Linked DNA regions of Homo sapiens: region 2 is linked to region 1. The links are contacts of gene promoters, found by promoter capture Hi-C in blood cells and fetal thymus (Javierre and others, 2016). All regions are on one chromosome and are shown on one strand. Each heading gives the region's core, a stretch centred on a gene start or on the middle of the fragment in contact. The rest is flanking DNA. Distances are from core to core; before and after follow the strand shown.

What was found. The method cuts DNA at HindIII sites, captures the fragments that hold promoters and counts their contacts. A CHiCAGO score of 5 or more calls a contact.
Region 2: a fragment that was not itself captured here is called in contact with the fragment with the promoter of RASSF8 in region 1 in 1 of 17 cell types (endothelial precursors); the score reaches 5.6 in endothelial precursors.

The regions. Positions count from the first base shown.
Region 1 is chr12:25,956,080-25,962,725 of GRCh38, forward strand. RASSF8 (Ras association domain family member 8) reads left to right here and starts at 2,603. Exons shown (of 6, transcript NM_001394098.1): 1 at 2,603-3,069. It overlaps RASSF8-AS1 (RASSF8 antisense RNA 1), which reads right to left and starts at 3,363. Exons shown (of 4, transcript NR_038228.1): 1 at 3,247-3,363; 2 at 560-685; 3 at 148-268. RefSeq lists silencers at 2,215-2,704, 2,805-2,904, 2,975-3,024, 3,165-3,214. The HindIII fragment of the contact is 3,942 bases long and covers 287-4,228 here.
Region 2 is chr12:25,680,637-25,687,282 of GRCh38, forward strand. No RefSeq gene overlaps it. Among named protein-coding and RNA genes, the nearest start is that of LMNTD1, 130 kb to the left of the region's middle. The HindIII fragment of the contact is 2,792 bases long and covers 924-3,715 here.

The DNA.
Region 1 (6,646 bases), core at 1,353-3,852:
GATATGGCCTCCTCCTGTTCATTGCCACTGCTCTCCAGTTTAGACTCTCCCTTGGATCTGCCTCTTTTCTGAATCCATCCTCTCAAGTTGTTTTCTTAAAAATCAAATCTTATTATGTCACAGGGTTTGAAGTGCATGAATACTCACTGACTCTAGTTAGGCTCCTTTCCTGGAATATCATTAGAAACCAGAAGTAAGGGTTGTTTACAATTCCCATCAAGGACATTTGGTGTGATCTCAGGAAGGCTTAACAGGGATGTGATTATAGCTACCAAAAAAAAAAAAAAGCTTAAAACAAATTGTACTACACTCTGAAGAAAGAACGCATTAACCAAATGGGCTAGGTAGGGTAAAGATTTTTCTGCACTTATCCAGCACTGAATGGAGGCAAATTCACTGACTTTGGCAGCCATCAGTAAGACTGGAGGTGAGGATACCTGGATTTTTAGGAAGGGTTTTTCCTAAATAGTAGGTATTGTTATCCAATCAGGAAGTTCTGTCCTGATATAAATGCTCATCATATAAGAGTTAGTTATCAAGAGTCAGTCAACTTGCTCACCTCTAGATGTGGTAATACTGAGGTCCAGATCCTCCTGGTGATCAACACAAACTGGATTAAGAGTCAGCTACTCAGTCAGATCCTGAATCCTGGTCCAACGATAACCACACTCTTGCCTGCTACCTGCTTCAAGAAGTACACAAAAGAGGGATCACTACCACAGCCAAAGAAAGGAGGAAAGTTTTTTTTTTTTTTTTTTTTTTTTTTTTGAGATGGAGTTTCGCTCTTGTTGCCCAGGCTGGGGTGCAATGGCGTGATCTCGGCTCACTGCAACCTCTGCCTCCCAGGTTCAAGCGATTCTCCTGCCTCAGCCTCCCAGTTGCTGGGATTGCAGGCATGTGCCACCATGCCCGGCTAATTTTGTATTTTTAGTAGAGACGGGGTTTCTCCATGTTGGTCAGGCTGGTCTCGAACTCCCAACCTCAGGCAATCTGCCAGCCTTGGCCTCCCAAAGTGCTGGGGTTATAGGCATGAGCCACCGCGCCCGGCCAAAAGGCAGAAAGTTCTAAGAAGGAGAGGTCAACATTGGCAAATGCCACAAAGGGCACAAGATGGGAATTAAATTTTTCCATTAGATTTGGCAATTAAGCAATGGCTGATGTTGTTCAGTGGAGTGAAAGGCTGAGAAGGGAATGAGAGGTTAGGAAACATTCACCTTAAGGCTAGGCAACTCCTTTGAAAAGAGTCAAGTAGGGTTAAGGGAGGATCCATGCCCTCCAGGTTGACTTTTAAATCATATTCCCTTTGGTTTTGCATTTGAATCACAGTGAACTTTCTCCTCTCCAAATGTTGATTTGACAAATTTGAGTCTTACCATGGCTCTCTTCTCAGTCCACCTGCAGGTCAAGGAACTAATGAGGTGTGGAGTAACTAAAGGTCAAAAAACAAGAGGAAGAAACAAAGGGCCAAAAAACCCCAAACCTTAAATCAGGTCCTGAGTCAGATACGCTGTAACAAATTCTGCTTCAAGTTTAATATTCTTGTTTTGATGATGTTTAAAAAAAGAAAAATAAAAGCAAGTGTCTGGAAAATTAAAAGGCGGGGTGGGGGGGGGCATTTTAATTGGAATGCTTTCTTGTATCTCATCCACTATCCGCACCCCATCGCCCTGCAAATTAATAGCTGTTGCGGAGTTGGGGTATGTGTGACCACAAAATCCAAAGGCTGAATTTTGCCCAGTGCCTGAGTAATTGCATGCCACACACAAAAAAACAGTAGAATATTGAAAACAACATACACATCTGTATTTCCATATGAAAGCACCCGTTTCCTTTCTTGATTATCTGCTATTTTTAAAGGGGTTGGGAGTGCAGCGGGGCGGGGGGATGAGGCGTTTTTTCTGAATACGAGCCCAGCTCTTTCTAAACTTTTGTTACTCACGTCCGTTTGATTCATTTGCTGTGTTTTTTCTTTCTTTCTTTTTTTTTTTCCCCTCTCCTGCCTCTGTCATTGCCTGCTGCTAAGAGGGACGCTGAATCACAGCCACTGCAGATGAAAAGCAATTCAAACCCAGTCCTTGGAGGGGGGATGGAACGGCTCTTTTTGATTTTTTTCCCCTCTGCAGAAAAAGCCTCCTACTTTCCGGGTGACCGTAGAGGGCAGTTTGACAAGTCTCAGCCCCGGGCGATGGAAGATTTTGCCCGTGGGACCGTCACGAGCCACCGGTCATCTCCCCGCGCCCGGCTTTCGGGTCCTCAGGCCTCGGTGCGTCGCGGGCCAGGCGACAGCGGGGGGGCGTCGCGGGCCGGGCGAGCGTGGCCCGGTGGGCCCGAGGGTCGCGCCGAGCTCCCCGCCGCTTTAAAAGCTCCCACAATGCAGCGCTGGCGTCCCAGTTCCGTTACGAGGTCTCTCCCGGCGCCGGCGAGCGGGCCAGGCGCGGGCGGGGCGCGGAGGAGCGGCGGCTGAAACCCGAGCGCCCGGCCGAGGGGGGCGCCCCCGCGCCGCTCCTCTCGCGCGCTCAGCCGCTGCCCGGCGAAGGGGCGGAGCCGCCTGGCCGCCCGGCCCGGCCCGGCCCGGCCCGGCCCCCAGCCCGGCCCCCAGCCCAGAGGCACCGGCCGCGGGAGCGAGCGGGTCGCCGACTCCTACGCCCGCGCTCCTCCTACGCCCGCGCTCGTCCGGCGCCCCGCGCCGCGCCCCGCTCAGCGTCTGCCGCCCAGCTCCTCGCCCAGCCTCGCCGAGCCTCGCCCTTCCCGCCCGCGGCGGCGTTGGCGCTGGGGGCGGCTCCCGCGGCGTCTCTGCCGCTGGCCGAGCGCTCGCGCACCGCGGCACCCCCGCCAGTGGCGTCCACACTCACCTAGCGCGGGCCGGGAGGTGCGCGGAGAGGGAACGCCGGGGGGCCGGGGCCTCCAGCCGGTGCGGGGCGCGCGGCGCGGGGAGCGCCGGGGAGTGCCGGGGAGTGCGGCGCGGGGACGGGCGCTGGGCGGCCGCGGAGCTCCGGGTGCCGCCGCGTCCCCAGCGCCCCGGCCGGCCCCTCTGGGCGGCCTGCGGGGGCGGCGCAGTTGCGAAACTGAGTAAGTATTAACTTTACTTAGCGGCGGCGATCCGGGCTGCGCCGGGGACCCCGCCCGTCCCGCCTGCAGCCTCGGAGCTGCCCTCCGCCCGGTTGCCCCTCTCTCCGCACCTTGGGTACCTCGTCCGTTCCGCCCCCACCCTGCCCCGCCGCGGGCTCCCGCTCCCTCTGCGTTCACCTTTCCTGGTGTGTCACCCTTTGCGCCTCTCCTCGCGGCACACAAGCCGCGGACTGAAAAGTACGAGCTTGGTCTTTGCTTTTCTGCTTCCTCCCAGTGTCCTTGGCAAGGGAGTTTAGAGGCCACTTTTCTTGCAAAGGGAATTTTATGTCTGGTTTTTAAAATATTTTTTCCTCCGGATGGAAATCGGATGCTCGCTTGCCGGGTGGCGGTTTGGTGAACGCTTTTCTCCTCTAAAAAAATATTGGTTTATAGGTTTTTAAATTTCATTTGAACTATTAACCATCTGCATTCTATTCTCCTTTGCCGCCAGTCCCTTTGGGGAGGGGAGTCCAGAAGAGGGGACGTTCAAAGTAATTCTGACTTGCAAACTAGAAAGTTTGAGAGGGTAAATCGCACAAAGCCGGAAGATTCAACTTGAAGGGACGCGAGCTTTGAATGTGGGTCCTGGTGCGGCACTGGGTTTTAAAAGATGAGTACTTGGGTTCGGAATCCAGTGTTGCGTTGTTATTTTAGCATCATAGAGCCGCCTGGTGTTGCTAAACCACTACTTTCCCAGCCTCAAATGGCATCTTGAACAGTGCAACGTAGGATATATAATTGCGGGTCAATATTGTTGCTGATCTTTAGGGATTTAGAAGCGAAATGAATGCAAATCACGTCTCATAGCTGACTTAAACCTGTCAGGTTAGCCCTGTCAGGTTAGCATTAAAGCATTTCATTAAAAAAAAAAATCCTCTAGCCCTGTGACAGCAGGGACGAACATTTATGGATTTTCCAGTAGATTGTGGCTCAGCAATTCATTAGATCTGCTTTGTCCCCAGGAAGCATTTTAAAATATGTATAAATCTCTGCTTTTCTCTCCATTAGATTAACCACTCATTCTGGTAGGGGGCCCCAGGTAGTTTTTATTTTCTTTTTTGCCTTTCATCTTGGAGTTGCCAGGAGTTGCCATCATGTTATGAAGGAACAGAAAATGAGAAGCTTTCTTAATGGGTTTTCGACATCCTGTCCTTTGCCAGAGTGAGGCGGTAGTGAATGCCAGCCAGCTTTCTGCAGGGAGAGGTGCAGGGTGGACGCAAAAATCAGGACGCAGGAGACAGCACTATCATTTGGGGAAGTGGTTTGTGTGAGTTTTATCTTTTAGCGGGCATACTAATGGTACTTTTAATTTTATTTATCTCTATGAGGCACACTCCCCAAACCATAAAATTACACATGACCATCCCCCACTTGAAGAAGACTGAACATAGTTTGATGATTATTCTATTCAAGGATCAAGTACAACAAAATATAATTTGTAATACAGATGATAAAACCTTTCAAAAATCTCCCCCTTCCTCATTTTTTTCCTCAAGAGTCTCCAGGTGGTACTTTCTGTGATGGACACAATTGGCAGTAATGCACTGAGTTCTTTCTAGGTTTATTGATCAAATCTTATGTCTGGGCTTTAGTAGCTTAGGGGTGCATTAGAGGGCCCTGAGAGGGAGCAAATCATGGGGCTGTGCAGGCAGGAAAGGCACTTCACTTTGCAGAAGTGTCAGTGTGCTTCTGGAAAAAACAGTTACAAAGAACAGAGAGTGTTTAAGTTGTTTATAGGATGCATGTTTCCTGAATTTGGCATTTGGTTCAGATATTTGGTAATTACAGATTTAAAATTCGACATGGTTGTATAATTTGTTTTGCCTTTTATTTATTTTTTTAAGGTTGCAACCTTTTAACCTGAATCTTCAGTGTTTGGCTCTTGTAGGCTTCTATACGTGGTGACTTACGTCAGTTTTTGACCTGACTGCCTTGTGTTTTGAGAAATGATTAGTTCTTCAGGGTTTCTGACTCATTAATTGATCTGTTTTATGTTGATGTATATAATGACTTGGAAGTAAAAATATTGTTTGCCGTGGGATATTGTTGTCTTTTTCTTATGGTTAATTCCTGGCATAATGGCTTTGCTCCTTTATTATAAAACATTAAGATCTTAGATATCTTGCTAGTGTTCAAAACATTACAAAACTCTTTGCAAGTAAAAGTGGAGTGGGAATGGGAGTTGGATAGAAAAACATGCATCATAAATTAAAGATTTGGATTACAAAATAATATAACGTTTATTTACTCTTCTTTGATGCTAACTTGCTCTAACCCTAAATAGACTTAAAAATTCAAAGTGTAGAGAGAGTTTCCAAGTATTCTGTATAGTGGAAAGAATGTTTACCCCACTGCCAGCCAGACTTGGGTTGCACGTGTGACTTTGTCACTCCCGAGGTGAGTGAGCTCGGCCATGCCACTTCAGCCTCTGTGATCTACAGTTGCATTTCTGGAAAATGGGGATACCACTACTTAAAGGGATGCTATGGTGAGTAGAACATCTAATATATATTAGATGTGCCTGGCACATTTCAGCCAATAAATGACAACATCTCAAACTCCTTCAGAATTGAGCTCTTGGTCACTCAAACTTTCAAACTGTTCCCCCTCCATTTTTCATCTCATCCATCCAAGGAGTAGCTCACTCCACTCTCTCTTTTCTTCTATCAGCCCTAGCAAACCAGTCCATCATAAAGTCCTGCTGTCCATTTTTATTGCAAAATCTCTTTCAAACCGGTCTGATTTTCAGTCCCCACTATTCTGCCATCCTAATGCAAGCCACTGTACTGTATTATCTTTTTCCTTGGTGCGGTGCCTCCTGCACACACTCTGCACCCCTTGCAGTCTGTTTTACTACCAGCAGCCTGAAAAAAAAAAGAAAAAGTATTTGCCGTCTTAAAGTTGTCAGGGCTCTCAGGAAACACATTTATTTATTTTTGGGATAAGATACCAAATCCTTGACATTACTTCAGGATCCTGCATGATTTGATCTCTACATCCACTTGCATCTCTTGCTGTCATCTTGGCCAGTTCTCCAGCAGACTAGCCTCAGGCCTGTGGCTCATGCTGTTGGTCTCCCTATTTTAGGATCATCTCCTTGAGTAACTTATCATCCTTGGGTGCTAGCTCAAATGTCCTTTCTCATAAAGGTCTTCTCTGACAAGCCCACCCTTATCGTCATGCGAATTAAATGTCCTTTATTTTCTCCCTCATAGCGTAATCACTTTTGCTTCTGAATATTTACCACAATTTATATATTATTTAATCACTTAGGGTCCTTTTCTTGCCCTTTAGGTTAATATGAAGTTGATAATACCTGGTTTAATCACCAGTGCCCAGTATATGTAGTAGGTGCTCAATAAATATGTTGATATAATGAGTAAGATCGTAATATCAGTTTGTATCTTTATCTTTTTTTTTTGAAATGGAGTCTTACTATGTTGCCCAGTTGGTCTTAAACTCCTGGCCTCAAGTGATCCTCCTGCCTCAGCCTCCTGAGTAGCTGGGACTACAGGTGTGTGCCACCATGCCTGGCTTC
Region 2 (6,646 bases), core at 1,070-3,569, 280 kb before region 1:
CCTGACTCAATCCATACTTTGTGTTACAATTAGAGTGGTCTTTTAAAAATCACATCAGTTTGGCTGGGCACAGTGGTGCATGCCTGTAATCCCAGCATTCTAGAAGGCGGAGGCAGGTGGATCACTTGAGTCCAGGAGTTCAGGACCAGCCTGGGCAACATGGCGAAACCCTATCTTTACCAAAAATACAAATATTAGCCAGGTGTGGTGGCATGTGCCTGTGGTCCCAGCTACTCAGGAGGCTGAGTTGGGAGGATTGCTGGAGTCTGGCAGGTGGAGGTTGCAGTGAACTGAGATCGCACCACTGCACTCCAGTTTGGGAGACAGAGTGAAACCCTGTCTCCAAAAAAATAAAAACCATATCAGGTATCATTTTACCCTTTTAAGAACCTTAAAAGGTTTCTGACTGCTTTTAAAATAAGGACCAAAGTTCTCAACACAGCCCACCAGGTCCTTATGATTTAGCCCTCCAACATCTCCAACTTACCCGGCATAATCCACTCTCTATTCTCTGAGCACATGGCCTTCTTGTTCTTCAAAAACATGGAGATGATAAAGGACCAACAGAGGCAGAGATAGGATGTGGGGCGGTGTCATATAATCAGACATCATGGACTTCAAAAGGAAGAGATATTGAGTTAAAGAGGAGGAAATGGTCAAAGGTAAGAAAAAGATGCTGGCATTGATTCTTAAACTTGATACAAGAAGCAGGGAGGAAAAATGAAATGGCCTTTGTTTAAAAGTATGGTGATTCAAGTAAAGTTGTCAGAGAAAAGCCATTTTTAGTTAGTTGTATCCATAGTTTTTCATTCATTTAATTAGAAATATCTTAAGTTGAATATTTCAATATATGGCTGTGAAATGACTGAGGCATTGAAGATGATATGTATTTGTTAATACGAAAGGGCCACAAATTTCTGAAAAGCTTAAATTAGTTTCATACAAAAATGACAGAAAGGATTCTCAGGTCTTTTGTTTTATGATAATAGTGTAACATTTAGGGTAGTTATTGAAGAACAAAAAAGTCACTTGAAAGTTGGTTGAAATGCAGCAACGACTCAAAGTGAAATCACCAGACAATATGAGCAATAGACGTTTTCACATGTCCCTATTTAGTGGGTGACACAGCCCTTGTTCAACAGAGCCTTAGGGATAAATTACTGCTGCCTCAAGACCACATCATACAAAGTAAGTGTTCATAATCCTTTCTTCTAGTGGGCAGAGCTCTGGCAGAACTCGCTAAAGAACTGCATCTAAAATGACTTCGCTTAGCAAAGAGCTGTACTTCCAGGCATCTTGGAAAAGGAGCCTCTTTCTGAGTTTTTGATGTGAGATGTCAAAGCGTTGTTGGTATGAGGAAATCTACTTGAACTGCTGTTATTTGACAGGTAAACATCATTTTCCAACCAGTCCCTGAATCATAGCTACCTACCTGGTAAACAAGGATATCCAGGTGCTGCCTAGAGCCTCAAAGTACACCTGTCATTTATCTACATCCAAGATTGACATCCTAGCCTGAACCCAAAGTGGTTCAGACATTCTGAACATGTGTGAGAAAGCGACAGCCTAAAACATCTTTTAAAGAGTCAGAATGATCAGCTTGATCAAGAAACACATTTGCAGTTAGAAGAGAGGAATGATTATGCATGCAGTTTGGTAGCTATCCTCAGAAGTCCCTCTGTCCTCATAAGCTCATATCTTGATAAGAAGAAGAGAAAATGAGGTGGGGGAAGGTTTCACTTTGGTCTTTCTCTAAGACACTATGACCCAGAGAGTGCTTTAGCACTGCAAGAACACTGGTGCTTTAGTGTGAGGAGGATCAGGGGCCACACTTGGCAGGAGGGAATTTGCAGGACCTCTTATGAGACCCTCACTGTGGACTATAAAAAATTGCTTGTTGTGGAAGGTAATTTTGTAGGGACAGCAAAGTCTGAAACAATTCACAAAGTTCTGGCCTGGTCAGCCAATTGGTGGTGATGTCATTTCCTGAAATAGGGAATAAAAGAGAAATAGATGATGACCAGTCTGGTCTTGGCATGTTGAATTTCCAGTGCCAATGACACTTCTCAGGGAAGGTATCAAGAAGGCAGTTGAGAGCTTTAGAGAGAGTCTGAGGTAAAACTATAAATTTGGAGTAATCAGTTTAGCGATGTTAGCTGAAGCAATGGCTGTTGAGTAGATGGTCCAGAGAAAACAGATGAAGAGAGTAAAAAAGATAGTAACACCCCAGGATTATCTACCTTAAAAGGGTAGCAAAAAGTGTGACCTCAGTGCAGGACTTTGGAGTAACAGGGGAAGCCTGGGGGTGAAAGGAGACCTGGAAGTAGATGCCCAAAGAATGTACACTTAGAACTTAATCTACAGAGTCGATTCTGGAAAATTCTATTATTTCTTTGTTTCTAGATCTTCCCTTTAAGAAAACTGACTGCAGAGTATTAAATCTACAACTGGATTTCCAAATAAAGGAAACAATTGTAAGGATTCAGTTTTAAGGATATAAATCAGCAAGTAGTTCAGCCAAGGAATAATAAACAGTCACTAGCTGAAGCAAAGCAATGTAGCTCCCAGAAATTTTTATTTCTTTTTAAAAATTGATTGTCCAGTGAGACACCAATAACATACAGTCACATTAATTGGTGCTTATAAGATGATTAATCTCTGTAATTCCCCTCCAGTCATTTGAAACGTTCTATAAGATGCCCTTGTACAAAACATAGTATTTTAACAGGAATTTTACAAGGCCTTTTATTCCACAAGGTTTTCGTGTGTGGTGGTGTGGTTCACAACATCATATTTCAACACCAGCCTACTTCAAATCAGATGTGTTTTTATGTGGGTTCAAAAAATATGCAGGACTGTGAACCCCAACACCGAAATTTTACAAAGCACAGCTTCCTTCCTCCCCACCCCAAACGTTTCATTAACTGGAAAATAAATAGACTGCTGACCTCATTGTAAAAGACATTCTACTTGATGAGAAAGGATGACAGCCTTGTCAAGTCCCTTCGTTTCCTCTCCCTTTAGGGATAAAACACCTATTGGCATTTGCCTCCATCATGTCAGGTGACATGGAGCTCTGTGCCCAAGTCCCACAGTCTCCAAGCCCTTGTCCCAGGAGGAATCCTACCCACCCCCAGCACCTGTTCTCCAGCAGAACTGAGATTGGGGAGCAGAAGACGGTGACATGTGTCAATGCAATATTTTACATTTACTCCATATACATAACCCACTGAGTGAGTGGGTGGAAACCTCCTGTGACTCCAGGATTGGCCTCTCTGCACTTCCATTCTCAGAACTCCCAAACCCTCAGGAACTGAAGGAGGAGATGCTGCACTTGGCAATTAGTGAACCCCATTTTGCCTTTTCTTGTCTTCCCCTCTTCCTCTGTCTGGTTCTGATGATCTTCCCACATAGATGTTCAGTACTACCTTTCCCAGATAGAGAGTATTTAAAGGACTTGGGACCCTTGATCTCGTCACACTCAGGAAAAATGTAATGCTAAATGTCCTTGGAGATGGTCCATGGCTTGTTGTTATGTTGGTAAACATCTCGCTGCCTGCCCTCCATCAGGGTGCAAGGCCCCAGCATGCTGGTCCACACTCTGCCTCTCACTCCCCTGTGATGTCTCCATCCTGACAATGGGCCTCTTGTACTTGCCTTGCCTTTGAGAACCAGCCCTCCTTTGCTCTTGCTGACTCTGCTGCCTGAGAACTAAAGCTTTGCTCTGCATTTCAATTCAGGGCCAAGGTCCCTTCTATTAGATTGGTGCAAAAGTAATTGTTGTTTCAGACTGTGAATTTTAAAACATTATAACTAGGCTCAAACACATCTTTATTAATCAGAATAGGAACCATTACAATCAACACATTTTTGCCAATAAGAAATAAGTTTCTTTTTTCCTGTAGCATAAAAATCCCTGCTTTGGGATTCGACGATCTCTTGGAAAGCATTTTTCTGCATCCTGCTGGTTTTGGAAGTGTTTTCCCTGCAAAAAGTTGTCGAGATGCTTGAAGAATTGGTAGTTGGTTGGCGAGTGGTCAGGTGAATATGACAGATGAGGCAAAACTTGGTAGCCCAATTAGTTCAACTTTTGAAGCGCTGGTTGTGCAATGTGCAGTCGAGCGTTGTCTTGGAGAGGAATTGGGTCCTTTCTGTTGACCAATGCCAGCTGCAGGCGTTGCAGTTTTCAGTGCGTCTCATCAATTTGCTGAGCATATTTCCCAGATATAATGGTTTTGCCAAGATTCAGAAAACTGTAGTGGATCAGATGGGCAGCAGACAACCAAACAGGGACCATGACCTTTTTTTTTTTTTTGGCTTTGGGAAGCACTTTGGAGCTTCTTCTCACTGCAGCCACCAAGCTGGTCATCGCTGGTTGTCATATAAAATCCACTTTTCGTCGCATGTCACAATCCGATCAAGAAATGGTTCATTGTTGTTGTGTAGAATAAGAGAAGATGACACTTCAAAATGATGATTTTTTTTTAGGTCAGCTCATGAGGCACCCACTTATCAAGCTTTTTCATCATTCCAATTTGCTTCAAATGCCAAAAGACCATAGAATGGTTGAAGTTGAGTTCTTCAGCAAATTCTCTTGTAGCTGTAAGAGGATCAGCTTTGATGATTGCTCTCAGTTGGTCGTTGTCAACTTCCGATGACTGGTCACTACCCTGGTCTTCAAGGCTCTCCTTTGCAAAACTTCTTGAACCACCACTGCCCTGTATGTTCATTAGCAGTTCCTGGGCCAGATGCATTGTTGATGTTGAGAGTTGTCTCTGCTGCTTTACGACCCATTTGAATTCCAATAAGGAAGTCGCTTGAATTTGCTTTTTCTCTAACATTATTTCCATAGTCTAAAATAAACATAAAATAAAAAGCAAGTAATAAGCCATTAGCAAAAAATCATAAAGGGAGGCATGCCCATTAAAATGATGTATAACCTAACCACATTTATTTAAGAATGTATTCTAATATAAAATGGCAAATTCCAACAACGCAAAAACCACAATTACTTTTGCATGCACCTTAATTCCTCTACACAAGCCAACTGGATGCAGGCTGTTAATCTCTCTAGACTTGCATCATGGACTTTGGTGGCTGCCCATTTGCTGGAGGCAGCTACAACCTTGAATCTTGGTGCTTTCTGCCTCCCTGGTGGATCCATCCTATCAGCCGTAGAATTGGCACAGGTATTCTTGGGCCAGGCCTATATTACTAAGGGGTGAATATCAGATTAACAACACTGCCCTCTGCTCTGACTTGCTAAGAATAAATATTTGTTGTGTCTCTGATAGATCCCAAACCATACCATTAACATCTAATGCACAAGAATGCTTCACTCTACATCAAAACTACACTATCGATAATCTGTGTAATGAACTTTCCTTTAATGTATTGAATGAACTTTAAAAACGTGTTAAGATCACATAGATGTGGTACCTGAGTGTTAGTGACAATCTTTGCAAATAATCAGTTTTTAGTAAATTATCTCTCAATTTTAGCACTGAAAGTCCTGCAAACTGAGATGGGTGGTCAGCCTAGGAAACGAGTCAATCTCTCTCATTGGTACTGATCTGTAAAGTAACGAAAGACTCAATTATTACTATGTATAAAATTATAACCTGATAATATTTTGTTAACTAGTCTCTTTTTGCCCATTTACACACCATAACTACACAGTATTTCCAGCTAAATGGGCTCTGAGCGGCCAGCCGGCCAGCACTGCGGGCCCCAGGCAGTGAGGGGCTTAGCACCTGGGCCAGCAGCTGCGGAAGGGGGCACCGGCTCCCTGAGCACTGCTGGCCTGCCTGCGCCATGCTCGAATTCTCGCCGGGCCTCAGCCGCCTCCCTGCGGGTCAGGGCTCGGGGATCTGCAGCCTGCCATGCCTGAGCCCCCCACTCCCCGCAGTGGGCTCCTGCAAGGCCCGAGCCTCCCTGATGGGCGCTGTCCCCTGCTCCGCTGGCCAGGTCCCATCGACTGCCCAAGGGCTAAGGAGTGCAGGTGCGTGGTGCAGGACTGGCGGGCAGCTCTGCCCGCAGCCCTGGCAGGCGACTTACTAGGCCAAGCCAGCTGGGCTCCTGAGTCAGGTGGGGACTTGGAGAACTTTTATGTCTAGCCAGAGGATTGTATATGCACCAATCAGCACTCTGTGTCTAGCTCAGGGTTTGTGGATGCACCAATCAGCACTCTGTATCTAGCTAATCTGGTGGGGACTCGGAGAAGTTTTATGTCTAGCTAAAGGTTTGTAAATGCACCAATCAGCACCCTGTGTCTACCTGAAGGTTTGTGGATGCACCAATCAGCACTCTGTATCTAGCTAATCTGGTGGGGACTTGGAGAACTTTTAGACCTAGCTAAAGGATTGTAAATACACCAATCAGCACCCTGTGTCTAGCTCAAGGTTTTTAAACGCACCAATCAGCACTCTGTGTCTAGCTCAAGGTTTGTAAATGCACCAATCAGCACTCTGTGTCTAGCTCAAGGTTTGTAAATGCACCAATCAGCACTCTGTGTCTAGCTCAAGCTTTGTAAATGCACCAATCAGTGCTCTGTGTCTAGCTAATCTGGTGGGGACTTGGAGAACTTTTATGTCTAGCTCAGGGATTGTAAATGCACCAATCAGCACCCTGTCAAAATGGACCAATC